2 separate regions of the Homo sapiens genome follow, and region 2 is linked to region 1. The links are contacts of gene promoters, found by promoter capture Hi-C in blood cells and fetal thymus (Javierre and others, 2016). All regions are on one chromosome and are shown on one strand. Each heading gives the region's core, a stretch centred on a gene start or on the middle of the fragment in contact. The rest is flanking DNA. Distances are from core to core; before and after follow the strand shown. Region 1 holds the start of SPCS3 (signal peptidase complex subunit 3). Region 2 overlaps NEIL3 (nei like DNA glycosylase 3).

What was found. Contacts are between HindIII fragments. The CHiCAGO score rates a contact against its expected background, and 5 or more counts as called.
Region 2: a fragment that was not itself captured here is called in contact with the fragment with the promoter of SPCS3 in region 1 in 1 of 17 cell types (total CD8 T cells); the score reaches 5.3 in total CD8 T cells.

Annotation. Positions count from the first base shown.
Region 1 is chr4:176,317,043-176,324,299 of GRCh38, forward strand. It overlaps SPCS3 (signal peptidase complex subunit 3), which reads left to right and starts at 2,924. Exons shown (of 5, transcript NM_021928.4): 1 at 2,924-3,177; 2 at 5,128-5,201; 3 at 7,139-7,215. The coding sequence starts at 3,035. SPCS3-AS1 (SPCS3 antisense RNA 1) reads right to left here and starts at 3,468. Exons shown (of 4, transcript NR_186171.1): 1 at 3,103-3,468. RefSeq lists an enhancer at 2,735-3,235 and silencers at 3,218-3,337, 3,458-3,527, 3,558-3,637. The HindIII fragment of the contact is 6,231 bases long and covers 1,863-7,257 here.
Region 2 is chr4:177,335,178-177,342,434 of GRCh38, forward strand. NEIL3 (nei like DNA glycosylase 3) reads left to right here. Exons shown (of 10, transcript NM_018248.3): 3 at 511-645; 4 at 931-1,144; 5 at 4,606-4,680; 6 at 6,299-6,465. Among named protein-coding and RNA genes, the nearest start is that of NEIL3, 29 kb to the left of the region's middle. The HindIII fragment of the contact is 1,847 bases long and covers 2,249-4,095 here.

The sequences.
Region 1 (7,257 bases), core at 1,674-4,173:
TTGAAAGAAAACAAGAAAAAATACTAATTAAAACAATAAATGAAAAAGGTAGAAAGCACAAGTATACATAATTAGAATTAACAATTAATAATTTAAAAAAAATAGAAGAATAGACTCCCTTGGGAATTTCTACCAAATTTTCTATCAAATTTTTAAAGACCAGATCCAAATGCTACTTAAAATATCCCAGTGCACAGAAAACTAAGGAAAACTTATTTTCCTTGTTATATTAGAAATATATATTTTCTAATTTGAGTATAATATTACAATCAAAAAAACACATCAGTTTCACTATGAATATTGATTACACAAACTAAAAAACAAAAAACCCCAAAATTAGCAAAGAAAGCACAAGAGCATATTAAAAACTAATTCATCATGACCAGGTGGAGTTTATTCCAGGAATGCTTACTGGGCCAATATTATAAAATCTATTCATATAACCCATTAAATAAGCAGAGGAAATAAGATAGAGGAAAGAAGTAGAGGAAATAAGATAGGGAAAATGCATCTGAAAACAATTTAGCACTTGTTTATATTTTTAAAAATTTCCCAATAGGAATAGATATTTCCTATCAATATGCAATATATATTATATAATGATACATGTACACACACACACACAATTTCCATCTCAAAGCCAACATCTTACTTGATGGAGAAATGAAAGGAAATTTCCTGCTCAAATCAGGAACAAAAAGATATCAGTTGTCCCCATCTGACTGAATATCATGTTGGAAATATTAGCTACTGAAATGAATAAACAATTGGAAATATAATAATTGGAACGGAAAAGGCAAAATGATATCTAATGTAGGTGATATAAATGTCTAGAAAATCTAAAGAAACACTTGGAAAAATAAAACAGAATAAGAAAATTCCCTATCCCATCCCTCTCCTGCTCTTTTTGTGGACTTTTATGTGTTTTTAGCACTACCAGTAAGTCAAGTTAAAAACTGTGGTGTCATAATAATAATACTAGTTTCATTTGAGTGTTCACAATCTGCATTCACTCTATGCTTTGCAGACCCCCACTCTTATTTAGGCAGTTGCTAAGTAACATAGAGTTTGTTTCCGAAATGCCCCTCCTATCAGTCTTCCTTTTGGGTCCATCACTCACTCTCCACATATAACTGGTAAATGGTTGCCTGTGTAGCGATGCTTGTTTTACATGTAATTTCCCTGATATAAAGTCAACTTCTTGACCTGGTTTTCTACCATAACTTACCTTTCCAGGCTTATTTCTGCTTACTCTTTTATACATGCATTGTTTATCAGGACCAGCCTTCTGAGTATCTCTTAGATATACCTGTACTTGCAGTTCAACAACAAGAATTATTTCCCTAAAACATGCTATAATAATAATGTGTCTTGTTTAGGCTTTGTGTTAAATAATTTGCACACTGTGTTGTCCCACATTACCAGGGCTGTAATTCCTTCCTCCTTTGCTATGTAACTTCCCAGGGTATTTTTTTGTTTTACATTTCAGATTTGTTTTTATTTTATTAACTCTACCTGATTATATACTTTTGAGTGTAGAAAGTGATCAGTACAATCTCTGTATCACTTGCAGTATAGATGGCATTCAATAAAAATCCTTTTTTTTCTTTTTTTGTTAACAAACTGTGCCAGCCTGGAAGTTAAAAACTAAGATTTTAAACGCAACTAAGGATCTCTCTTTAGTCTCTATTTTATCGATTTTTCATTAGTTGGCTCTATTTGAGCAGGGAGTCTGCCTTATTAGTGCTGTATTCTCAAGGCTTAGAACTATTCCTGGTACACGGTAGGCACTTGGTAATAATCCTACCTGTATGGCTATACAAAAATTAATTGAATGGTCATGAATAATGCAAAGAAGCAAAAGCTTAACAAGAGACAACATAAGCCAGTATCAAGATCAGATGTTCACAGTTTTCTGGTTTGTTCCTGATCACATTCCAGGACAGATATTTTTGTTTGGTTTATGGACTGAAATTTTTAAAAAAAATTTATTTCAGCAGACCCTGAATCCATTTTTATAAAAACCCTTAGCTGTGAAAGGAACAAAGGTTTTGGCAGATAGTATAATCAGAGTCAGGATTGGCTCGGTTTGAACCCTAATGCCCTTCAGGATATTGAAAATGTGATAAAATAATTGCATTATTTATTAATGACCCAACGAAATTCTTATACATTATGCTGTAGAGCAATTCCGCAGCCATTATCTTCTTTGCTCCTAAGAACCCAGAAAGGTTATCCTTTTATTTATCAGAAATCACCATGTTAAAATGCAAATACTTAGGATCGGTAGCCTCAACCCTTATCTTCTAAAACATCTTTAGCTATCCATACAAAGCAAAGCATTAATAGGAATTGGACTGACGTTGGAGGTGGAAATACTGATGCACGTGACAGCTTTAAGGACTTGGGCGGCTAATTCCCCACTCCCCACTGCTCCTCAGATCCTCCAAAAAAAGCTCAAGTCCTAACTTTGACCAGGTTTGACAAAGAAGGGAGAGGACCAGGCGTTTTGTAAAGTGCTGCTTCCAAACGCCACCCGTCAGGACAGATTCTAAACCACCTTAACTTGCTGCCGGTTTCAAGTGAAAATAAATGGTACATAAGTAATCAAGAAGTCGCAGTCCCAGACCTCTGACCAAAGAACCGAAAAAGGACAGCGAACGACCGGTTCCCAATTCTCTGAACCCAAAGGTCGGAGAAGCAATTTAGAAGAGGAGGGGGTGGGTCTTCCACAACAAACCCCGCCCCTCCCTCACTCGTCGCTGATTGGTGGCGGCGTTAGGCCGCGACGGAGGGGCGGGCCCGCGGCTGAGTCTCTCCCTTTCCGCGCCGCCCCGTGCGCGCTGTGGGTGTGTTTCGGGAAGCGGGCGCGCGCGCGCTCGCGTCGGAGGACCGGAAAGGAGGCGGGGCTGCGGCGGCGCGCGCTCCCGGAACGCGCGCACCGCAGACGGCGCGGATCGCAGGGAGCCGGTCCGCCGCCGGAACGGGAGCCTGGGTGTGCGTGTGGAGTCCGGACTCGTGGGAGACGATCGCGATGAACACGGTGCTGTCGCGGGCGAACTCACTGTTCGCCTTCTCGCTGAGCGTGATGGCGGCGCTCACCTTCGGCTGCTTCATCACCACCGCCTTCAAAGACAGGAGCGTCCCGGTGCGGCTGCACGTCTCGCGGATCATGCTGTGAGTGAGGCCGGGCCGGCGGTGCAGGACGCCGGGACCGGGCTGGGGCGGAAGCCGAAGCCGGGCCGCCGCGCCGGGGCTGCCGTGCCGGGGCCGCGGGCAGGGCGTCCGGATCGCCCTCCTGAGCGGCAGTTCGCCCCCGAGGGCGGTCGTCAGGGGTGGACGTCGCAGGCTTTTCCGGCGTCCCCTCGGAACTTGCACCCCTCCACCGTAAATTCCCGGGCTTGCTCTTAAATTTTAATTTTGAGCGTTCCTCAGGTCGGTGCCTCCGCTTGCTTCCTGTTCCTCACTTCCCTCCACCCACGCCTGGCCAATGAGGGAGCAACACAACAGCAGAGCCGGCGCCGCCGCCCGCCTGGGCTGGCGCCTCCCGCGCGTCCGGTGCCGCTCGTGGTCCGCATGCGAGGCCCTCCAGGCGCTGCCGCCGCGCTCTGGGTCGGGCTTCCGTGGGGTTTCCTGGCGGCTCTGGAGGCCACAGGACGGGGTTGTCTTTGTGTCATTCATCACCCGAGTTTGCCCTGTTTGACATTCCCTTTACAGTTGTTGCCTTTGCACCTTCAGAAGGCAGTAAACAGTTGGAGCTGCTTTGAAGTTGGCCAGAGATGTTGGGCACTGAGAGAATTAAGCATCTTAGCCTTCTGATACAGCGAGATTTTTGTTTTGTTGGGTTTCTTTATTTCTTTTTCTTTTGCCAACCACTTGAAGAAGTCTGCGAAAACGCCAAAAAATGCAGTTCGAAATGACAGTGCCATTTCGCTATTGCCTATTTTGTCCTTGATTTTATTCTCTGGCACTTTTGTCTTTAATCGTCGTATTTTTCCATCTCTTGTTCTCATACCCTTCTACTCTATTTCCGTCTTACACAAGTTCTTTAACCTTAGTTTATTTCTTTGTCAGAATCGCCAAGAAGCCAGTTATCAAATAGCGAGCCTTCTCCCCCCACCTTTTTTTTTTTTTTTTAAATTACTGTACTGATGTTTGTTAGATATTGTTCGAATAGACCTGGGGTGGACATCAGCACTGCCATTGTCAGCCCTGTGAGGGTTAGAAGAGCTTGGTGCATATTAAACACTGAACAGATGTTAGCTGTTGTTGTCTTGAGCAAGTTTTCTTACCATTCTGGGCCTTAATTTCTTTTTGTTTAAGATGGAAGTAATACCTAATTTTTAGGTTGTGAGAATTATTTGAAATGTGAAAAATATTGTCAGTGGGTCTGAGCCGTAGTAAACAGTAAATAGCAGCTGGTTACAGTAGTATCCCCTTAATGGGGTAGGTATACGTTCCAAGACCCCCAGTGGATGGCTGAAACCACGGATAGCACCAAACCCTATATATACTTGGTTTTTTCCTATACCGTACATACATACCTACCTATGATAAAACTTACAAGTTAAGCACAATAAGAGATTAACAATAACATAATAGAACTGTAACAATATACTATAATAAAAGTTATGTGAATATGATCTCTTTCCCCTTCTCTCAAAATAACTTATTTTACTGGACTCACCTATTTTCACACCAGATTGACCGCGGATAATTGAAACCGGAAAGTGAAACCTCGGATAAGGGGGTGATTACTGTATCACCCTTTAATATGCCATCTGTTAGTATTCGTATCACCTTGTAGTCATGTGTAGCTTTCTTCTACCCATTCTGCAAAATTGCTTTACATCAAGTATTTACTATTCTTTTTAGCAGTTTTTATCCCCTTCTGAGTTTTGTTAGGGATTCTCTTGAGGTATATGCAATTAGCTGAAGACCTACTTTAATATTGGATTAGAATGTTTCTCCTGTTTTCACACTTACAGGTTTCTCTGGTGTTTACTCGTTTCTTTGTGGAATTGCAGTTTCACCTATGCACACACCTGTATTCTTTCTCTTTAAGAAGTTACGTGAATTGTGTATGTTCTGTTGGAAGGATGGTAAAACTTTTATCTTTATTCCTAGAAAAAATGTAGAAGATTTCACTGGACCTAGAGAAAGAAGTGATCTGGGATTTATCACATTTGATATAACTGCTGATATCCTTTAAGAAAATATTTCGTTGCGTTTTCTGTAGTTTTATAATGAGATATGTGTTGTTTAATGATTTGGGATACAGTGTGACTATCTCATTGAATCAGCCAAACCTTGGAAATTCCGCCTTTTTCATCAGTAAAATAATGTTAATACCTCCCCATGACACTTGGAGAAAACTTCATAGATTCATGAGTAGTTGTGTGAACATACTTTAAATTCTTAACCGAAACATTAAATTGATTGAAAACTACATAAGAAAGTTTGAATCTGTATTTTAGAAAGAAAAAATAAAATTAGATCATTTGGATAAGAAGGAAAAATATTACCAATGCTCAGCCTGCCTGTGAATATTTCATGTACAATTTCAAATAATATATCCATATTTTATTATAGCAGAGAGAAACATATGTTTAAAAAGTGAATTACGTGTGTTATGATTTGAAAAGGTCATATCAAAATTATTGGTAACCTGTGGTTGCTTTTTGCCGTCATAACTCTTTTTATAAGGACTTTTATAAAAGTCAGAAAATATTAACAATTATAAGAGTTTCTTTGGTGGTGATATTTAAATATTTTCTCTTGAGATTGAGTTTCTATCTTTTGACAACTCTGATCATTTTGGCCAGGCTAGTCTTTTTTAGGGTCTTTCTTAGGTTAATATCTTGGCAATGTTCTCTGCCATTTCTAGCCTGATTTCATCTGCCTTTTTAATACCCCGTGATTTAAATGGTTGTGGAGATTGAACGATCTGAACTTGTGTGAAAGTACCTGTCTGAACAGTTAAAGCTGATCATATACTTGGGGAATTTATCTAATTTGCCTTTCTATGACCATGAAATTTACTTTTAGCTTAAGTTTTGGTAATTATTGGATTTAGAAATAGGCTAAGAATTAGTTCTGTAGGTACCTTTTTAGGAAATAGAGTGTACCATCGGAAGAGTCTTATGCTGAATTTCATGTGTATTTTTAAGTCTTTGTGTAATTTTTAAAAATCTGCTTAAGGGAATTTAGGTCTACTGTGAGGGTAGTAATTTTGTGTATCCAGAGAATTATAGTGAAATTTCCTGGTATCTATGGTATTTATATATTACCAATCTCATTATTTGTAGTTTCTTCAGATTTTCTTAATGCTGCTGCTACTACTACTTGAAATTGTTGCTGTTCTTGTAAACAGCAGTCCTAGACTTAGTTCTAAAGGAGTGATTCTTAGTGGTTACACATAATTAATAATGGAATGTAACAAATGTGTTACTACCAGTGTGGAAACTCATATAGTAAAATGAGTTAACTTAACAATTAACATAATACTTAAAAATCCAAATATTAACTCCGCTTATTTCTTGGTATTGGCACCAGTCTTGTTAATTCTGGTGAAGTTCTTGTCCTCTTTGGGAGACTGAATTGAGCCACATTGGTGTCATTTGCATCTTTGAGAGACATTTTAATGTCTACTTGCATGTGACCAAAAGTGACATGTACAATTTATTATACTTGGTTAATTATTGAGCCTTGTTTATGTTTGCATATTGTTAAATTTAAATGGTGGTGATTGTTTATACTTTAGAGCTCCAGTGGAATTGTATTTGCTTGAAATATCGAGTCCTCTTTTTTTTTTTTTTAACTTAGTTGATGTTACAGAAAACCAAATTTTGGATTTGTTCTTTTCTTACTAGTCAAAGTATCTCAGCTAGTAATCCTTGGAGGAGTATGGGAGGATGCCAGTAATCTCATACTGACATTTTTTTGTTTTGGAATAAGCTGGATTTCACAATGTATTTATCTTCTGCATATTTTTATTAAATTAGTGGCACATTATGTTTCTGGGCCGCCTCTTTTCTACTTTAGTATTACTGTTATGGATAAATAACCTAAGAATAATTAAGATCTATTTAAAAGTGATATACTGCTCATAAATTTATATTTTCCTTAATTTACTTACATCTAGAGAATATATTTGATTGGAATGTTAAGCAGTTGTTTCTTTATTTATCAGCAGAATATTCAACAAAAAATAATGTAAGTATATCTAATTAGAAGTATTTTAATAGCTATTTAAAG
Region 2 (7,257 bases), core at 1,922-4,421, 1.0 Mb after region 1:
AAACCATAGATATTATTTTGCAATAGGTAATTATTTCCAATCCATTGTGGTTAGAAATAAGGAATTTGAATATTAGTGGCTTTGTAGAATTTATGAAAACACAAACTATAGGCAACTTAAACTTAGCCTTATCTCATCCCAAGCCTTTGAATCTGAGAAAATGCCAAGAGATGCTAGACTGTTCCATGAATAAAAGATACTTCATCTGACAAGAAAAGAGGAGCAGGGGTGTATTTTTTTGGGCTTATTGTTGGTACCATATTATTTCTTTGAGAAGTTATTTTACTTTTGAGTTGAAAAACTGATTGTCATGTCTTCTATCTTTATAAGGATACAAAGTCATGAGAGAAAAATATATAATAATCTTACCACTGGTTTCTGCCCTTTAAAAGTGTCTATCCTGACTAACATTTGTTTGCTTATAATCCAAAAAAAAAATGATAGTACAGGAAAAAAGCTTGATAAATGATATACTTTCTGCCACTCAAAAATGGTTTGATTTTGTTTCAGGATTCATTTCGGAATGAAAGGCTTCATCATGATTAATCCACTTGAGTATAAATATAAAAATGGAGCTTCTCCTGTTTTGGAAGTGCAGCTCACCAAAGATTTGATTTGTTTCTTTGACTCATCAGTAGAACTCAGGTAAAAAAAATTAAATAAAAGTACTTACGCTGCAATACTGCAGAGCTTGGTTTGGGATGTCACACGTGTAACTAAAGAAACAAATAAATAAAGAGTTTGTAATTGATGAAACCTCATTTTAAAGAAGCCTTCAGATAATATAATTTGTAAGGTCTTTGTTGTTTGCATATGTAACTCTTATACCCTGATTAACATAAAGTGCTTATAGCAAAGCTCATTTTAAAAGACACTTTGTGAAATTATAACCAGACTTATGATTAATGTGTTTTATATTCCTTTCTATAGAAACTCAATGGAAAGCCAACAGAGAATAAGAATGATGAAAGAATTAGATGTATGTTCACCTGAATTTAGTTTCTTGAGAGCAGAAAGTGAAGTTAAAAAACAGAAAGGCCGGATGCTAGGTGATGTGCTAATGGATCAGAACGTATTGCCTGGAGTAGGGAACATCATCAAAAATGAAGCTCTCTTTGACAGTGGTCTCCACCCAGCTGTTAAAGTAAGTTTTAAGTATTTTTTTAATTATCTGTTGATTTTTCGGTACTGTGAAGGAACCAACGTGGAAGCCTTAACTCTGCATTTCAGTAACACAGTCTCATCAGACTTCAGGTGTCCCGCTTCCCATTTCTACCCAGGTCAATTTCTCAGTGCAGCCGGCTCCTACCACCGCACTTGCACTTACAGTTGCCTTGTGCACACCCTCCCACTCCACATTTCACTCTATCAGTCTTCCTTAACTTGCCCTGCTTTTTGTTCTCTCCATACCAGGTATCCCTTTCAAACATAACATATTTACTTATTATACTGATTGTTTAAAAGCTGTCTCCTTCTGCTAGAACACAGTCTCAAAAGGAAACAAGGCTTTTGTTCACTGAAGTATCCCAACATCTAGAACGTGACCTGTGGTGTATGGTAGGCATTAGATATTAATATTTGTGGAATATGTGAATGAACTAACTCACAACTTATTTTCTCTCTCTGGCATATTAAGTACATGTTCTGCACACGCTTGTGTATTCCTGATTACAGCTGTTGGTGACATTAGAAGCTGCTGTTGTGGAAGGATAGCAATGGAAGGCAGGCAGCAGGGACCAAGGAATAAGTGATCAGTGAGGAAATGAAAGCAAAATGTAGAGCCCTTGTTCACATAGGCCGGAGTGAAGGGAAAATATTGGCTTGCTAGAGGGGATTCCAGGGCAAGACATGAGTTGGTTATTTTATTTTTTTTCTTGTTCTACAACTGCAGAGACTTGAACTTATTTATATGTTGCAAAAAAAAAAAAGTGGTTAAAGGGCAGAGGTTAAAATTGTAGAAAAGGGAATGGTGATGAATATAGCAATGTTCTAAGAGGGTAAGAGAGGTGAGAACCCTAACCCAGGTAGAATACATACATTTTAGTTTCTAGGGAAGACCTCTACATTAGGGCTTTTATCAAGACCTGTTGCCACTAACTAAATTAATTTTTAGCTCTTTTAGCTGAATTATTTTTTACATAATTGACTCTATTAACTAAATTATCTTTTACATAAACCCAGGTTATTTTTTTACTTTGTGTAGATACTTACTAGATAGTTTTAGTAATACCCAAATCAGTAGGAATGAAGCTTTAAAAGAAGCCAGTTAATGATAGGTCTAGATTAGATTCTGCTTTTTGATACTTGGAACACGTGAGTTCAGTATGGAAATAATGAAACAGAACTTTAACAAGAGTGAGCTTTTTAAAAATCACTTAGACCTCTACGAAAGTTGTTTTTGAAAAAAAGAGAACCCAGGGTATTGTTGTTATCTGTGATGCACTGAGAATTTACTTTTTATCTCTGCATCCAGCCATCCATCCATCTAGGAAATGATCATTTACCCATAATGCCTGGGGGTTTAAAAATTAATGACATTGGCCAGGCACGGTGGTTCATGCCTGTAATCCCAGCACTTTGGGAGGCTGACGCGGGCAGATCACGAGGTCAAGAGGTGAGACCATCCTGGCCAACGTGGTGAAACCATCCTGGCCAACATGGTGAAACCCTGTCTCTACTAAAAACACAAAAATGAGGTGGGCGTAGTGGCACATGCCTGTAGTCCCAGCTACTGGAGAGGCTGAGGCAGGACAATCGCTTAAGCCCGGGAGGCGGAGGTTGCAGTGAGCAGAGATCACGCCACTGCACTGCAGTCTGGCAACAGAGCGAGACTCTGTCTCTCTCTCTCACACACACACACACACACACACACATTTCTGAAATTTAGCTCTTAGCTTCTTAAAAGCACGTGCACAATTACTGAAAAAGTACAGTTTAACTTTTCAAGATGTGACTTAATATAGTATGTAAGATTTGGAAAGTAATAAATATTTTGGATGTATGTAAGTTTTAAAGTTTAAGTGAACAATTGAATATGTATAATACTTTCAGGATGACTATGTTGATTAGATTTTCACTTCTATAGTCACTGATAAGTGATTTTCTTTGTACATGTATGTGTCTGTTTATATGCAGCTTCCCTCAGTATACACAGGGGATCAGTTGCAGTACTCCTGCCTATACCAAGTCCATACATACTGAAGTCCTGCAGTTGGCCCTAGGGACACTGCTACACAAAAAGTCAGCCCTACACACATGCAGGCTTCACATCTCACAAATACTATATTTTTCATTCATGTTTGATTGAAAAAAATCTACATGTACGTGGACCTGCTCAGTTCAAACCTGTGTCGTTGAAGGGTCAGCTGTACATATAGATATTCACACACAGGCAACAAGCATGAGGCATCAGAGGGTTTCTTTTGGGATTACCATTGACGGCACATGTGCCAAATAATAATTCTGCAAGGGTAACACTGAGATTTATGTTAGGCTGTGTCAGAAAAAAATTCTTCAGTAAGGTCTGTGTCTGAGCTCTTCCATGTGTTAATAAGTACTTTGATATTAATGCATGTATAGAAATGCATATCTTTTCTAAAGCTCGATAGTGACCTTGGTGGTCATCTACTCCTGTGCCTATTTTCCCTTCCCTTCTTTCTGTTTTATATTGTTCTTGGTAATTTTTTTTTTTGAGTCCAGCAAGACTTCTCAAGGTGTCTGATAGACAATGCTGAGACTTTGAAGATGTCTAATACAGAATAAATATTCAATAAATGCTTGAATTTACAATTAAAATGTATAAATAGGAATCATATTTTGTCAGTAATATTATCAGTTCAAAATATAACTACTGTTAATGGTACTAAATAGATCCGTAAGAAATAGAGCTCTAGAAGATATTCATATACGATTGACTCTTGAACAACACAGGAATTGGGGTGCTAACCCCTCCCATTGAAAATCTATATACAATTTTTGACTCTTCAAAAACGTAACTACTAATAGCCTACTGTTGATCAGAAGCCTTACTGATAACATAGTTCACACATATTCTGTATGTTTTATGTGTTACATATGTATTATTACAATAAAGTAAGCTTGAGAAAAGAAATTGTTATTAAGAATATGGTAAGAGCCAGGTGTGATGGTCTGCGCCTGTAATCCCAGCTACCTGGGAGGCTGAGGCGGAAGGATGGCTGAGCCCAGGAGTTTGAAGCTGCAGTGAGCTATGATGATGCTGCTGCACTCCAGCCTGGGCAATAGAGTGAGACCCTGTCTCTAAAAAAACAGAAGAATATCATAAGGATTATATTTACTACTCATTAAGTGGAAGTCGGTCATCATAAAGTTATTGCTCCTCATCATCATTACATTGAATAGATTGAGGAGGAAGAGGAGGGGTTGGTCTTGCTGTCTCAGGGATGGCAGAGGCAGAAAAAAATCTGCGTATAAGTGGACCCTCCCAGTTCAAACCCATGTTGTTCAAAGGTCAGCTGTATTCAAAATCTATTTACAGTTCTCTTTCACAGAATTGGCAAGGCGTATTATTTCTTACAGTAATGAGCAAGTCATGAAACTAGGCTCTGCTGTTTTTTCCACTTCAAGGTTTGTCAATTAACAGATGAACAGATCCATCACCTCATGAAAATGATACGTGATTTCAGCATTCTCTTTTACAGGGTAAGAGCAAAATTTTTCAACTGTGTAAAATGTAAAATGTCAGTGGTTTCCTTTTGGAGTGCACCAAAAAATGTGAAAGCTGTATATAGCCATCTAGTGGAAAGAGCATGGAGGTACATTAAGGGAGAGTGACATTATGTGGGTGTAATTAACATCTTGAAATTCTAGGTCATAGGTCAGTTCAAACTCGTCTAACTATAACCATATTCAATTATCTTTATACCAAGTTAGGAGCAGCCATGTTGGCATTTCACAGACTCTTTTTCTATTTTTGGATACATAAAATATAGAAAGTCTAGAGAGGCTGACCTACAGTAACACTTTCAGATAACCTTAGTTCCATCAGGCTTTGCCACTGACTATAGACCTTGGTTCAATCAAGCTTTGCCACTTACTACTATCTGTGTGGTTTAGATTCTTTGGATAACTTTATTTAAGTTTAGTTTCTTCATCTGTAAAATGGGATAATAATGTTTCTCTGTCTACCACAGTTTTGAGAAGGAAGGACTTGCTGACTTGTAAATGTGGAAAGTTATATACTATATGCATATATAGAATTCAATAAACACATCTTTTAAACAAAGTAATGCAAATATGTATTTTCTTTCTTCACAGTCCATTTTCTGTATCCAAAATTTTCATTTTTACTATGTTCAGAAAGTCAGGTATTGTAGTATTCTTTATTAATTGGCCTAAAATGTGAATGAACCTCTTGCTCTGCAGATCGGTCTTGAGTAACTATGGCTATTTTTAAATTGCATTTGCTTACTTCTTCCTCCAGAAAAAGATGACCATAGAAAACTGCCCATTTCCACCCAGATTAAATTGGGTCTTTCAATACTTTCCTTAAATTAATATAAATTGTGTAATTTTCAGCTCATACGTGGTGAGCCATATTTCTGGGCTTTTAAATTTTCACAGTGCTGATGGAAACTCAAGATATTTTCTTTGTAGGAGCCTTAAATATTTGTGAGTGGAATAAAACTGACCAAATATATCAAAATATCTTTTGAAGTAGAATTTATACCAAAATGGAATATATTCTCTGCTAGGATGGTATTTGAATGTTTATTTTCTTTCTTTCTTTTTTTATTAATGAATCTCTAAGGTTAAAAAGGAAAAAAAAATCCTTTTTCAGGTCAACAAAGAAAATGCTCTTATTAAATTTTGTCCCCTAGAATTAAGTTTTTTGGTTGTTGAAACTGAGTGAGCAGTTTCAGTCTTCTAAAAATAATCAGATTTCAAGCTAATCTAGCCTTTTTCTTTTAACTATATAATTATGGTTAATTTAAAAAGCCTTAAAAGTGTAAAAGACATTTTTAAATATAGAACTTTTACATGTCATTTAGATAAGAGGATAAAGCTATGCAAAGAGCAATTTTGAATACTAATGTCATTAAATAATGACTTATTTCACACAAATTTTATTTGACAAATATTACCAAATCTTGTCAATACCTTTTTCTCTGATGAAAGAAAAGATTATATTGACATATGTACAAACATATGTAAATTTTTAGCAGATGATTTTCAGAGGTGACTTTCGAGAATGTGTCTTTGGCTCCTTGGCAGCACTGTTTTGTGGATAACAGAATTTTTTGGTTTTTTTTTTTTTTAGTGCCGTAAAGCAGGACTTGCTCTCTCTAAACACTATAAGGTTTACAAGCGTCCTAATTGTGGTCAGTGCCACTGCAGAATAACTGTGTGCCGCTTTGGGGACAATAACAGAATGACATATTTCTGTCCTCACTGTCAAAAAGAAAATCCTCAACATGTTGACATATGGTAAGATATTGAATTTAAAGGGATACCATTTGCCCTAACCATCTAACTAAAAGGCTAATAATCTGAGAATATAACTGAATAACTGTCAGGCTATTCAGAAGAGAACGTGACTCAAAAGTATTTTAGTCCTTGAAAGGAAATAGTAAATAATGTCACCAAAGAACCTGAGGGAGCCAAAGATGATTTATGGACCAGTTCTGAATTTAGGTGGAAAATCTCTGGCTCAGGGAATAATATCTAGCCTTTACCTTTAACCTAGTTTGTAAAGTGAGTACCAGGAGATGTCAATAATTGGAAAAAAATGCAACTACCTTCAAAAGTCTCTGCTTCACTTAGAAATAATATTATAAAACAAAAGCAAGATCTTTTTACAGATTGTATGTCTAGTTGGTGAAATAATAGACCACTTACTAAACCCACGTGTAGTAGTTCTGCCAGTTGCTGAGTATGTCTCTTCCAATGATACATTCCAGAACTGGAGAAATAACCGCAGGATAGGTTTGAGGACTTACTGTGAGAAGTATTTGGGCTAAAACTCCATTGATCACCTGACCAGACTGGTGGTGGATCACAGTGATATTTTTGTCTCCTGGAATTAGTGTCAGTTCAGAGCCAGTGTCCAATAATCCTTGAAAAGTCTGATTATTTTCTTTTCCCCAATGTACAGTTACCTTGGTAACAGGCCATAGGACCTTTTGGGGGAAATCTAAGAGAAAGATTATGCAGTAGAAAGCAGCTGCATAGCAGTATATGTGATTATAAGATTATGTAGTATAAAGCAGCTGCATAGCA